5 separate regions of the Homo sapiens genome follow, and all the other regions are linked to region 1. The links are contacts of gene promoters, found by promoter capture Hi-C in human tissues and cell types (Jung and others, 2019). All regions are on one chromosome and are shown on one strand. The core of a region is centred on a gene start or on the middle of the fragment in contact, and the rest is flanking DNA. Distances in the headings are between cores, read along the strand shown. Region 1 holds the start of CNBD1 (cyclic nucleotide binding domain containing 1). Region 2 overlaps MMP16 (matrix metallopeptidase 16). Region 3 overlaps MMP16 (matrix metallopeptidase 16). Region 4 overlaps MMP16 (matrix metallopeptidase 16). Region 5 has its middle 45 kb from the start of DCAF4L2.

Region 1 (2,796 bases), core at 124-2,623:
TTAACTCCCAGCTACCGAGTTTCCTGGGCTTTTTAAAAATATTATTTTATGGTGACTTTTATTTTCTTTTTCACAAATAAAACATGAATAGTAGAAGCTGTGTTTCTTCAGCAAAATTGCACTTAATTCTTATTTCCACTCAAGTAGAAATAGAAAACTTTGACCAGATGCAAGATTATTTTCACTATAATACAAATGGAATTAATTTTGTTTAACATAAGGATTTTGTCTAACACTATTCAAGACATCAGTGTACCCCTTCAAGGAGTATCAACTGCCACCTGTTATACCTTTTAACCTGGAGACTATGAGCATTAATTTTTTAAAATGTATTTGGAGAAATTAACTTTCACAGGAAGGGAAAAGGATGGATGGCTTAGCTTCTTCAAATCAATACTATAAATCTGCCCAATGAATAATAAAATAAGAGTTAATGCTTTATTGAAGTTGAAAAGGATCACAAGTATTACCTTTGTTATCCAGATATTTTTTAAAAATCTTAACTAACACTGGAACTCATACATATTGCTAGTCAGAATGATGGTGTTCAAATAATAGATCTTATAAATTCGATGGCCATGAGAAGTGTTTACAATCTTAAGAAAACGTTATAGGTTTAGACTAATTACATAAAATGAGAAAATACTGTCAATTATATAAACTTTGAAATATCTAGTTCTATACTTAATTCTTATAAGTAAGACTAGAAAATAAAAAAGTTAAATAGGAATAAATTTCACAGTCAGAATAGTAGGAATTATCTTTTTTTCCTTGTCAAATTGAAATGAGAATTCTCCTAGAGAATATTAAGTATTAATTATCCCATTAAGCGTAGTAGGACCAACTCTTGGTAGGGAGTAGAAGATCTGCTAGAAAAAGGAACCTGATAGCTGGTGGAACATGTGGCCTCTCTAAATCTTTGTTTTCTTTCATCTTTAGAAATATTTCAATGTATCTGAAGCTCTAAGAGTTCGTAAAGATCCTCATTTTACAGAGAAAAAATACTTAAGACCTAGAGTACTGAAATGACTTCAAGTAGACCAAGCAGGATTTACACATCTATGTTCTTTCCATTCTTCAGCACTGTCAATAAGATTCCCAATGTCCCTATCAACCCTGAAATACCCCCAATTTTCATAGCTGGGGTAAGAACCGCTGAAAACAATGGTAGGTGAATAAGAGCATCAAAGTATTTCCCACTCACTTGGTATACTGTGAAGTGGAGGAGGAGGCACATTGTTAATAGCTGTCATGTGAGACAAAATAGCTGCTGGAAGAGAAGACATCGGCATCTTGATGGCTCAAAGGCAGATAGATGACCAGAGGCTGCTTGAGAGGCAAATGATCACTCTTTGCCTGCAGGCTCATAAAGCAGAACTTCAAGGTCCTCTCTGATAGGTTGAATCCTACGGAATCTTCTTGTTCATAGTTCTTATCCATTGTTTGTGCATTTCCAAGAGTGTCATCTAGACCAGGAAGAACTATGCTACATTTTAGTCCAGTGGAAATCATAAGGAGGACTTTATGAGCTATAGAGAGTAGCAATAATGAAGAAGGAAACTGTAGCCCACAAGGCTGATACAGCAGAATCAACAGCACTCATGAGTCTAGGTGAAATGAAAGTATTCACTTCCTTGGTCTTCCATAGTCCAGAGCCCTTTTCCTGCCTACCAAATGTTTACACTGGGTATCACAGGCCCTTTCTGTACCAGCAGTAACAGAGATAGCATATTTATACTGTTCTTCATGGCCACATTTATAGGGTAAACCATCCCTTCTAATTATCATACACCAATAAACCCACCCCAGCTTACATTTAACTATATTCTGCTAGAGTGTGGAACATGTTTTTTTGTTATTTTCTGCTGCTTCACAATAATTAAGGATAGTTACAATGGCTAGGGTTTACAATCCTAACTAATGTATCTTTTGATGCTGTGTATTATCTTCCAAGGCCTTTAGAAATAGGGTCCTGGTATCATAACTGTTAGAGTGATACGGACAGGAGACAGGGAAACACTGGGTAGAAGAGGGCAGTTCCCCAGTAAAGGCCCCACCCTCAAGCCTGGAGACCTGCGGCCCTAGATTGGGACAGGCATTCCTGTTTTTGCACCTAAAAAGTTGCCTTTTGGCCTGCAACACACCCTATCCTGTACCCATATAAACCCTGAATCCCAGGCTCCAGAAGCAGACGAAGAGATGAGACAAATAGATGAATGGCAGAATGACAGGCAGAGAAAGTGAGAAAAGGAGGAACATCTGAACACTGAGAGGAGTTCAGCCACTGTACGGCCAAACTCCAGGGGAAGATCATTTTCCCACTCCATCCCCCTTCCAGCTCCCCATCCATCCTGCTGAGAGCCACCTCCACCACTCAATAAAACCCTGAGTTCTTCCTTCAAGCCCATGTGTGACCCAGTACTTCTGGGATGCTGGGCAAGAATTCAGGATACAGAAAGCTATCACACTGGCCCTCTACCCTTGTGAAAAGGCAGAGGGTCCATTGAGCTTGTTAACATCAAGCCATCCATGGAGGGTAGGGCTACAAGGGCACACTGCAACACAATGCCCACTTGGGCTCCTGCACCTGTCCGTCTGTGTGCTCCCCCTCCCCACAGGGTTTGAGCAGCAGCGATGACCAACCAAGCAGGCAAACCACAGCCCTGTCACACATTCTGTGAGGGGAATCAGGGAACTCCCCCATTTCATCAGGTAATATACAAAAGGACTGTGGCTGTCTGATACCTGAACTGGACTAGCAGAGTGTAAACCAACCATTTCTGGAGCAACTTCATC
Region 2 (2,796 bases), core at 124-2,623, 1.5 Mb before region 1:
GTTGGAACAAAGCTTCAGGGGGATGCTTTTTATGCTGACAACTAAGATTACATTGCTTTATTCATCACTAAACTTAACAATTTGTGGTCCCCCCATTCTTTTTTATCTCTGTGATTTAAGGTTTAAGACTGTATATTTTTCCCAGGGAAGTGGGGGATTTGAAGAGGGTGGTTGGCTAGAGGTATTCATGTTAACTCTTTCCTGTCTGATTTTTAAGGGTATAAATATTTGGAGTTGTCAATTATCGAAGTGAGAGATATTTTTAATATGGTGATGAAATCCTGTTACAGAAAGAGAGTGCATTTGGTTTTGCTTGGTTAGCTTGTTTTTTAAGAAGCAAAAAGGAACATCTCTTACAGCTAAGAAAGGGTCAGACACTACCAGGAGTAGTACTATGGAAGAGATTCAATACACTGCTCTACTTTCATTTCAAGTGGAACACTTTTATTGTTAAGTTTTCAGTATATACTCACTTAGGTAAAGATATCCATATATCATTGGATCCCTTTTTTAAGAGTTGGTCTTTCAGTATGTGATAATTAGCACGATGCAAGGGAACATTGCTAATATTAACTAAAAGTCAAAAACTGTTGTCATTGGACAGCAGTCTGAATCAGAGGTGTTCATTGGTCAGAAGCAGCTAAATTATTAACAAATAATTATTAATGTCTACTGTCTTAAAAATCATTTTGTTCCTAAAATAGCTATCTCATATAGGGATTTTCATGATCCTGTGGCTTTTTTTTTTGGTATGCTGTGAGCATTTTTGTTATGAAATTTGAGACAGAACATAGTTCATGATAGTAATACCTCTCATATCGTCAACTCTGAATAGTTTGTCAGATATTACTTATGTGAACAGCATATTCCTTATCAATTTCTAAACAATAGCATACATTTCCAGGGAGGAAAAAATTTTCAAGCTGATTTAGTGGTAAAATAAAAACATATAAAATTCTAAATGATGCATATATCAAAGCATAAAATGATTACTCTTTTGTGACAAAAAAAGTCTTGATAAGGCAAAAATTGATTTTGTTGTTCCTGATTAAAGAAAGCAGAGATATTTTAGATTTCAAAGGGGTCTTTTATGACAAATATGAATTGAGTATAACTATTTCCTAAATTTTTCTTGCAATATATTTACTTAACTGATTTAAGATTTATTCAAACCTTTGTCAGGTTTGCCTGCATGTACCTAAAAAGTCAGAGTTTGCATTGGGTACTTTTGTATTGCATATAAATTTGGTAATAATTAATCATGAGACATTTCAGAGATAAAAATTATATTTTATAGAATTTTACATTCTTATGTTGGGACACTGTTGCTTTTCTCTTGTTCTTTGCTTGCTTAAAAAATCAAGATGCATTATTTCATTTGGACATGGAAGAATGGTGGTACCATGCCTTCTTGAGTAAAGGTTGTCTCCTGAATATAGCCTATAATTCTCCACTGTAGCAGTTTCTAACTGGTCAACAACAGGGGCTGTATGACTGATTCATCAAGATTTTTATGTACCGCAAGATTGCAGGTTTAACAAAACGTCTCAAATATGCTGGCTGTTTAGGGTGCTCATAAGGGCCCAAAGCTATGATAAGGAGAACAAGAGTCTCAATTGTTTTAAGGTTCTCTAGCTTCTCCTACATGTTCTACCTTGACTATGCCTCTCTGTTCAGAGTTGCCTGGGCCGGATCACTCAGGTCTATGGTTATTCATGAAACCATTACATGACGTGATCATAGCTCACTACAGCCTCAACCTCCTGGGCTCAAGCAATCCTCCCACCTTAGCCTCCTGAGTAGCTGGCACTACAGGCACATACCACCATACCCAGCTTTTTCTTTTTTCTTTTTTTTTTTTTAATTTTCATTGAGACAAGATCTCACTATGTTGTCCAGGCTGGTCTCAAACTCCTGAGCTCAAGTGATTCTCCCTCCTTGACCTCCCAAAGTGCTGGGATTACAGACATGAGCCACCACATCTAGCCACATGTCATTATTATTAATAGAAAATAAAGGTCGATAAGGAAGTAATTGGCACCATAGCATCTAATGACATAAACATCTATCAGGTTAGGACATATCAATTGGTATAGGAAGATTTTATTTAAACACCTTTCCATTTATTAAAAATATAATGTACTGAAAATCAACCAAGCTAACATCAGTACATTTTCTTCCCGTAGGTTTTTCTTAGACAGTTTAGTTCAAGAATGTGATTTTCACATTTTGTCATGTCATCTGTTACTATCATAGAATATCAAGTTCAGCTCACACCTTCTTTTACAACATCACGTTCGCTGAAATCTGTTCATCTTTTCTAATGCCATAGAAAATAAATAGGCCTTTATAATTCAGTAGGCCTTTTTATTTTAATTGGATCAAACCCCAAGTGCTTCCTTTTCATAATATGGGTAGGATTCAATAAGAAACTTAAGCCAGCTCTGTTATACCTCAGATTCTGAACAACAACAAAAAAGTTTTTCAAAAATTATGTATAGGGAGGGATAAGAATTGACTGAAAAAGAAATTAAAGTGTTTTCTACAATAGTAAAAAATAGTGAAAAACATATCGTGTCCATATAACATTGGGAATGGCAAGATAGCTAGCAATGTGGTGTAATTGAGCACTGGGGGAGAAGTTGAAGGAAGTGGGCTTTAACTCAGGTTCTTTTGCTAACCTGGCTTTGAACTTGGACATGTAACTTATTTGATATCTCATCTGCAACAATGAGATGTGAACTAAACTGTCACTAAGGCCATTTCCAAATTTGAAATTTTATAGTCGTAAGCCTA
Region 3 (2,796 bases), core at 139-2,638, 1.4 Mb before region 1:
CAATTTGAACTACCTTAAGCAACATAAAAAGTTTATTGGAAATTGCTAATGTAGTTCAGAGATTGTTGGATGGAGTGCACCAGGAAAGTATGGGGCAGTTGCAGATATCTTAAACGTGAGACCTTGATTTGGTTCTCTGCTTGCCTGTTGGCATATGGGAATGCTAGCAATTTTTGCACATTGATTTTGTATTCTGAGACTTTGCTGAAGTTGCTTATCAGCTTAAGATGCTTTTGGGTTGAGACAATGGGGTTTTCTAGATACAGGATCCTGCCATCTGCAAACAAAGATAGTTTGACTTTCTCTCTTCCTATTTGAATACCTTTATTCCTTTCTCTTGCCTGATTGCCCTGGCCAGAACTTCTAATACTGTGTTGAATAGGAATGGTAAGAGGGTATCCATGTCTTGTGCCAATTTTCAAGGGGAATGCTTCCAGCTCTTGCCCATTTAGTATGATACTGGCTGTGGGTTTGAAATATATGGCTCTTATTATTTTACAGTGTATTTCTTCAATACCTAGTTCATTGAGAGTTTTTAACATGAAGGGATTTTGACTTTTATTGAAGGTCTTTTCTGCATGTATTGAGATAACCATGTGGATTTTGTCTTTGGTTGTGTGTAGGTGATGAATCACATTTACTGATTTGCATATATTGAACCAACCTTGCATCCCAGGGATGAAGCCAACTTGATTGTAGTGCATATGCTTTTTTATATGCTGCTGGATTCAGTTTGCCAATATTTTACTGAGGATTTTTACATCCATGTTCATCAAGGATATTGGCCTGAAGTTTTCTTTGTGGTATCGCTGCCTAGTTTTGGTATCAGGATGATGTTGGTGTCATAAAATGAGCTAGGAAAGTGTCCCTCCTTTTCAATTTTTTGGAATAGTTCAGCAGAAATGGTACCAGTTATTCTTTGTATCTCTGGTAGAATCCAGCTGTGAATCTATCTGGTGCTGGGCTTTTTGTTGTTGGTAGGCTATTTATTATGGCCTCAGTTTCAGAACTCACTGTTGGTCTTTCAGGAATGCAATTTCTTCATGGTTCAGTCTTGGGAGTGTGTATGCATCCAGGAATTTATCCACTTCTTCTAGATTTTAGTTTATGTGCATAAAGGTGTTTATAGTATTCTCTCATGGTTGTTTGTATTTCTGTGGGGTCAATGGTGACATCCCCCTTATCATTTCTAATTCTGTTTATTTGATTCTTCTCTCTTTTCTTTTTCCTTAGTCTACCTAGTAGTCTATTTTATTAATTTTTTCAAAAAAAAAAACACCTCCTGGGTTCATTGATTTTTCAAGGGGCTTTTCGTGTCTCTGTCGCCTTTAGTTCAGCTCTAGTCTTGATTATATTTTGTCTTCTGTTAGCTTTGGGTTTTGTTTGCTCTGGTTCTCTAGTTCTTTTAGTTGAGATGTTAGGTGGTCAACTTGAGATCTTTCTAGCTTTTTGATGTGGGCATTTAGTGCTATAAATTTCCCCCTTAACACTGCTTTAGCTGTGTCCCAGAGATTCTGGTACATTGTCTCCTTGTTCTGTTTAGTTTCAAAGAACTTCTTGATTTCTCCCTTAATTTCGTTATTTACCCCAAAGTCATTCAGGAGCAGGTTATTCAATTTCCATGTAATTGTATGGTTTTGAGTGAACTTCTTAATCTTGAGTTCTAATTTGATTGCACTGTGGTCTGACAGACTGTTGTGACTTCATTTCTTTTGCATTTGCTGAAGAGTGTTTTACTTCTGATTGTAGGATCAATTTTAAAGTAAGTGCCATGTGGCAATGAGAAGAATATATATTCTGTTGTTTTGGGGTGGAGAGTTCTGTAGATATCTATGAGGTCCACTTGATCCAGAGGTGAGTTCAAGTCCCGAATATCTTTGTTAATTTTCTGTCTTGATGATCTGATATTGTCAGTGGGGTATTAATGTCTCCCACTATTGCTGTGTGGGCATCTAAGTCTCTTTGTAGGTCCCTAAACACTTGGCTTATGAATCTGAGTGCTCCTGTATTGGGTGCATATATATTTGGGATAGTTAACTCTTCTTTTTGAATTGAACCATTTACCATCATGTAATGCTCTTCTTTGTATTTTTTGATCTTTGTTGGTTTAAAGTCTGTTTTGTCAGAATCCAAGATTGCAATCCCTGCTTTTTTTGTTTTCCATTTGTTTGGTAAATTTTCCTTCATCCATTTATTTCAAGCCTATGTGTCTTTCACTTTACATGGGTCTGTTGAATACAGCATGCCAGTGGATCTTGGCTCTTTATCCAGCCTTTCATTCTGTGTTTTTTAATTGGGGGCATGTAGTCCATTTACATTTAAGGTTAGTATTGTTATGTGTGAATTTGATCCTGTCATTATGATGGTAGCTGGTTATTTTGCAGACTTGTTTATGTGGTTGCTTTATAGTGTCACTGGTCTATATACTTTAGGGTGTTTTTTAAGTGGCTGGTGATGGCTTTTCCTTTTCATATTTAGTGCTTCCTTCAGGAGCTCTTGTGAGGCAGGCCTCATGATGATGAATTCCCTCAGCATTTGCTTGTCTGAAAAGAATCTTATTGATCCTTTGCTTATGAAGCTTAGTTTGGCTTGATATGAAATTCTGGGTTGGAAATTCTTTTCTTTAAGAATGTTGAATATTGGCCCCCAATCTCTTCTGCCTTGTAGGGTTTCCACTAAGAGGCCTGCTGTTAGTCTGATGGGCTTCCCTTTGTAGGTGGCTAGGCCTTTCTCTCTGGCAGCCCTTAACATTTTTTCTGTCATTTCAACCATGGAGAATCTGATGATTATGTGTCT
Region 4 (2,796 bases), core at 141-2,640, 1.2 Mb before region 1:
GGAAATAACTACCAAAAAAATTTTGATGCCCACATTTTGAATAATTTTGTCACTGTTATTTTATATTCTTTATCTGTATTTTATTTTTGCTCTGTAATTTCTCATCTTATTTTTGTTTGTTTTTAATTTATGTTTTCTCTTTGTATCACATTTTGCATCAGATCCCTCAAATTTTTGTGAAATGATTATCGGTACAAGTAAGTGGACAAGTATTTTAGATACTTTTTCTTTCAACCTCGCATGTGTAGACATGTGTGGGGTGGGTTTTTTTTGCTGCTGTTTTTGTTTTTTTAAAGAAGCCAGTGTATAATGTCTCCCTTCACTGATTAAGTTGCTTGCTGTTGAGTGAGAGTGTAGATGTACAAACCCACAGGGCTTTCTTACTGAAAGTCAGCCATTTGGTGTATGTGACTATCAGTTAGCACCATTTACAGTTGTGATGCCTGAATAGACCTATTTATTCCTCTATTTGATATTTAGTAAGTAACACTGAGTCGTTCTCCTTTATGCTCATAAGGTGTTTGTTTTTTATTTAGAGAGACCCAGAAATAGAAAATGTATCACACCTCGAGGAAGTAATATGTTTTTTTTTCCCAGCAACTGAATGTACTCCACACTTTGTGCTAGTTAGCTATCTTTCCATCACTCAGGTATATCCCATATAAAGAGTAACATTTTGTAAGCATAATCAAGCCAGGTGTACATTCTCAATTACTAGGCATGTTAAGACTGAATGGTTATGAGATAATAGTATCAAAAAAGCTGTCTTAAAAATTGAGCTGGTGCAATCTCTTTCAAGAATTGGAAACAAATTTTAAAACAAAGATGCTAGTGTTGTCAGAATCAGTAACAGTCAAAATAAAATCAAGTAGCTGAAAGGTTGTCTCAAAATTCAAACTGTTGCTATGACTTAATAACTTTAAGCAGTACTTATTACCCTGGTTGGCAGTTTCATTTCAAGAGACACAAATCACTTGTGGAATAGAAACTAAAATATATGAGGCAGAAAAGAGGACGGCAGTAAAATTTGGGAATAAAAATGGCATACACAAGATGTGTATCAAAAGAGAGGAGTTGTCTAAAATACTCGGTGCTGGAAAATGGCAAAGAAAAGAACTGTTTGTTAAGAAATGGTTTATATGACTTTAATTGTTATTTTATTTCAAATGAGTCCTCATAAACAGGCAATTTCTTTATGCTGCTCACAAATTCTTTTTCTTGAAAGGTTTAGGGAGTATTCATGAAGTTCATTTGAGGTCGAAATACATTGTTTCTTACATAGTACAATAAATAGGTAACGTAAAAGAAACATTTTCTATAAATAGGTGAGTACAATGATTATTTATTTCTTTATAGGATGTAACAGAAGATTGATGTATAAAAAGTTATACTAGATTAAGGAATTTATATTTAGTAGTCTTGGTATATGTGAAAATAGATTTAGACCAAGCAAATAGTGCTATTTTTTGAATTATAAATATTTATGGAATTTTAGTATTAATATTTTATGTTGAAATGATCATCTAAAACATAGGTCCAAATGTTTAATATTTGAAACTCTAATTGCTAATATACCTCTACTTATTAAAATGATTCAAAAACTCCATAGTATAGTTTTATTATGTCTATTTTCATTTATATTTAAAGCTGCAATATTTTCCTGTCAATATTACTTGTGTATCTAAAAGTTTTCCTTATTTTCAAAAACTGTTATAACATCACTTTGTTTGTTGTGCCCTGTAGAGTTCCCCAGAAAGCAGACACTGAGACCAAGTTAGGAGGTTGAGAGGTTTGTCAGGGAAGAAGGTAAATATGTGAAAGATTAAAGGGGACAAGGCAGGATTAGCAGCAGGTGACAAAGTCTTGGTGAACCCGATGCCAAGCTTCACATCAAAGAATGCCTCTTAGAGGACTCACATGCAGAGCAAAAATGGCCAGGCTTTAGTACTCTGCTGTGATCAGTCTTTGGTGGGAGGCTGCTGAAGAAGAGTGTAGCCTTGGCCCAACTGATGCATCAGACCCAAAGGCACTCAGCTGATGATAGTTTCTTTCTCTAAGGAAGTCCTGAGCTGCACACCTCAGCGGCAACCACACTTGCACAAGCATTCAAAATTCTCTGCTTGCTAGATAATATTGTGGAATCTGGAAAACAAAATGCTACTAACAAAAAGTCATATGACCTCAAGAGTTGGGCATTTATTCAAGTTTCCTGAGCAACCTATCTATAAACAATATAGAAATTAAAACATACTCCAAATATTGAGCCCAAATAGAGATTAGTGTTACTTGTTTATTATTGGTATCATTTATTTATTTGAGTAGGTGATAAGCAAATTTGATCAGTGAAATACTGTGTTATAACCATTTATTGGGACAGCCTGAGGCACCTACAGTGTGAGTGTATTTGATCTCTCATTATTTCCCGAATTCCAAGCGAGCATTAAGTTAGCATCCTATGTACAAATTATGAAAGGAAAGCTCAGATTCATGACTTGCCCAGGATCTTACAGCTGGTTATTGGTAGAGCTGTCACCCCCTAGTTCTGACTTCAAAGCTATTGAATGCCCCATTAAATAACATAATCTAACAAATAAAATATTGATTATTTATAAAAATGTTTTAAATTCCCTGATGTTTTCTCAAAGAATATATAAATGGTGAACAGTAATCAGCCCAATAAACAATATTTACTGACTATTCTATGCACAGACTTCTGTGTTATGAAGAAAATCAAACCGTTAAGGAATTTGTTTTCTAATCTTTCCTGTAAAAAACTACATAGTAAATACTTTCTGC
Region 5 (2,796 bases), core at 79-2,578, 1.1 Mb before region 1:
TGATAAAATCTCCATTTTTTTTATTGGAAAACAAATAAGAGGGTCAGAAATGCAAACGAGTTGCCCAAAGCTACACATCTAGAAGACCCAGTTGCCCCACGTTACACAGCTATCTCTGAAGAGTGTTTTGTATCTGCGGGATTTTTATCAGTGTCCTGACTCCATATCCTGCATTCATTCTACTACACCACACTGGATGATCACTAGGGTGCAGCATGAAGATAATCACATTTAGAGTGGCAGTTTTCTTATTTGGAGACTAGACCAAACTTCAGGTTCATGTCCACTTAGAAAATGAAAGTCTAAGACATTGAAAGCTGGAGCAGATTTTGACAGCTAGATTTCTATTGGCTAAACCGGATCCAATTTGGTTGGACCTTTGTTTACAGCATATACTAAAGAAGTGCTTGCTAACTAATCAGGGACTGCTTCAGTCACCCCAAAAATATAAGCAAGGGTGGAACAAATTTTAAATATGATTTTTAGGGATAATTTACATTCAGTGTGTAAAGGATTTTGACACATTCAGTAATACACCGGGATAATAACACATACTCTATCACCATTTTTGAATCAATTTTTCAAATCCTTTGTAGATAAATACTTAAAATTCAATAATTTGAAGAGGATATCTGTTGTCTTTTATATACAAATGATAAAATAGTGATATTAATAATGATATAATACCTTGCATTATGCAAGCAAGAAAATTTCTAGTGTTCATCATAAATTGTTTGTACATATATTCATCAATAATGTTTGGCATGACCTAATACATTTCAATGTTTAATTTTTGTTCAAATGTCAGAATTTCTGTGTTCCATTTGCAAGAGTATTTTTTGGTTGGTGAAGGATTCTTTCACCTCTGAGTGGTGTTTTTGGTTAATATTTCTTAAAGAAATGTGACACGCAAACATAACCCACAGATTCTCAATCACATAGTTCATCCTCTGTATGTGAGTGCATGTACATTTTCTGTATATATGAATTTGCATGGTTGGATTGTTAATGCTGTAATCAACCATGATCATGTTATGATTTAGTACAATTCGGTCTCATTTAACTGAACTATATATGTCTATCACCACTTATGCTTTATTGTCTTCTTATTGTCAAATCTGAAAGAGAAGTAATTAATTTGATGCTTGCTGTATAGACCAATGCAATGACCTTGTAATTCAGACAACAAATGGGCCACTTTCTCTGTTGAAACTTTTTTTTTACGGCTGCCTGCACTCCTCAGGGCATTCCAATACATAGCACTCTGTTTCATTCACATAAAACTTAGACATTGACATTCAATTCTACATCCTTCTGGCTTTTCTGCAGAGTATTTTATCCCTTTACATGAACATGATAACTCATACTGTTGTACCCCAAACCCTTGAACATTTAAACATTTAAAATAAGAGACTTTTTAAATATAAATCTTTATTGTAGGAAATTTAGGTGTTGAAGCACCTGAAGTTTAAAGTCTTATTACTTTTTGCAGGCTCTGTAGAGAGTTGAGATAAACCATCGTGATTATGAAGAATTTATTTTAGAATAAATAAGTAATAAAGATTCTTGAAAGGATTTTTATTATGTTACTATCTTAATGATTATACTCTGAGTCTGAAGCAGAGATCTTCCTGAAACTGAGTCTGTGCAGATATTATGACTAGTTGATTGGGTATAAAACGCATAAATACATAAAATAAGTAACGAAATCAAATAAGACTTTTTGGCAGTGCATAAGAAAATAATTGGCTGAACATTTTACACTTAACTAGAAATTTTTGGAGACATAGCCTCAGGCATATATGGAAGGCACAGCTTGCTTTATTTTTGTTTTGACTCGTAACTATGGTCTAAGATTTCCACAGCCTTTGTCTTGAATAGTTATACTGGATCATTTCTCAAAGACACTCAAAACTTTGTGTCTAAACCACACCATTTAATTTTCTTTGAGAAAATTTTGACCTTTGTGAGGTGTGGTCAAAAAGTAGTATGATATCCCTCATATTACATGTAAATCAGTAGTGAAGGTAATTCCAAAGCAGAATGTTCAAAGCATTGTTCACAGTTTTAACAATGGGAACTTTATTAGAGAAAGCACTCAGTATCTAGATATGACCATCTTGAAGGACAATGCTCATATTATTAGAGACATTCCGACATCCTGTTACAAACCCAAATAGAAAATGCAAAATGAATCAGCTCTTTTTAGTTTCCCCTATGTTTGGAGTTATAGGAAACTGAAGATAATGTGTTTTCTGCAAGTAGTTTTGATTAGTGTTTTGGGAAATTCAGCTTGTTAATTCCAGCTTAGGCCAGTTGTAAGATAAAGCTGCTGTGAACCAGAGAGACAATGAAATAAGCTGGTTGAAGAGGCTAAGCAAATGATGAGTAGTCTTGAATGTAGTCTTGGGAAAGAGCCAACAAGATCTCATTCCTCAAGTCTGACTCTAGTTTAGGATTATGGGAGAAGGTTAAACTATGAGTCCTCAAGTGATCTATGTGGCTTAGCACAGCTTCTGAGACTTAGAAAGAAGAGACCTGTTGTGAACTTTTGAGAAATAAAAGCAGGGCATGTAGCAATGATCATGGTTAATATGTCAAGTTCATTTCAAAGCATTCACTGTTTGTTTTCCTTTAAATAAGATAAAAAGGAAAATAATAGAAAAGAATAGCTGATTTTTTTAAACCTAGGACTCAATGTGGAAGTACTGTGGAGTAGGAAAGAAAAGCATCAGCAGTTTCAGTTTGACACTTCCCAGCACACTCATTAGAATCAGTTCAAGCTTTGTATTTGAA

The links. Contacts are between HindIII fragments. The study calls those that stand out against the background at their distance.
Region 2: a fragment that was not itself captured here is called in contact with the fragment with the promoter of CNBD1 in region 1 in 1 of the 25 tissues and cell types used here (dorsolateral prefrontal cortex).
Region 3: a contact is called between a fragment that was not itself captured here and the fragment with the promoter of CNBD1 in region 1, in 1 of the 25 tissues and cell types used here (dorsolateral prefrontal cortex).
Region 4: a contact is called between a fragment that was not itself captured here and the fragment with the promoter of CNBD1 in region 1, in 1 of the 25 tissues and cell types used here (dorsolateral prefrontal cortex).
Region 5: a fragment that was not itself captured here is called in contact with the fragment with the promoter of CNBD1 in region 1 in 1 of the 25 tissues and cell types used here (dorsolateral prefrontal cortex).

The regions. Positions count from the first base shown.
Region 1 is chr8:86,864,992-86,867,787 of GRCh38, reverse strand. CNBD1 (cyclic nucleotide binding domain containing 1) reads right to left here and starts at 1,373. Exons shown (of 11, transcript NM_173538.3): 1 at 1,205-1,373. The coding sequence starts at 1,292. The HindIII fragment of the contact is 15,353 bases long and covers 1-2,796 here.
Region 2 is chr8:88,321,739-88,324,534 of GRCh38, reverse strand. All of the region lies in intron 1 of MMP16 (matrix metallopeptidase 16), which reads left to right. Among named protein-coding and RNA genes, the nearest start is that of MMP16, 4.3 kb to the left of the region's middle. The HindIII fragment of the contact is 4,597 bases long and covers 1-2,796 here.
Region 3 is chr8:88,304,482-88,307,277 of GRCh38, reverse strand. All of the region lies in intron 1 of MMP16 (matrix metallopeptidase 16), which reads left to right. Among named protein-coding and RNA genes, the nearest start is that of MMP16, 22 kb to the left of the region's middle. The HindIII fragment of the contact is 8,217 bases long and covers 1-2,796 here.
Region 4 is chr8:88,064,189-88,066,984 of GRCh38, reverse strand. All of the region lies in intron 7 of MMP16 (matrix metallopeptidase 16), which reads left to right. Among named protein-coding and RNA genes, the nearest start is that of DCAF4L2, 190 kb to the right of the region's middle. The HindIII fragment of the contact is 4,449 bases long and covers 1-2,796 here.
Region 5 is chr8:87,918,114-87,920,909 of GRCh38, reverse strand. No RefSeq gene overlaps it. Among named protein-coding and RNA genes, the nearest start is that of DCAF4L2, 45 kb to the right of the region's middle. The HindIII fragment of the contact is 5,413 bases long and covers 1-2,796 here.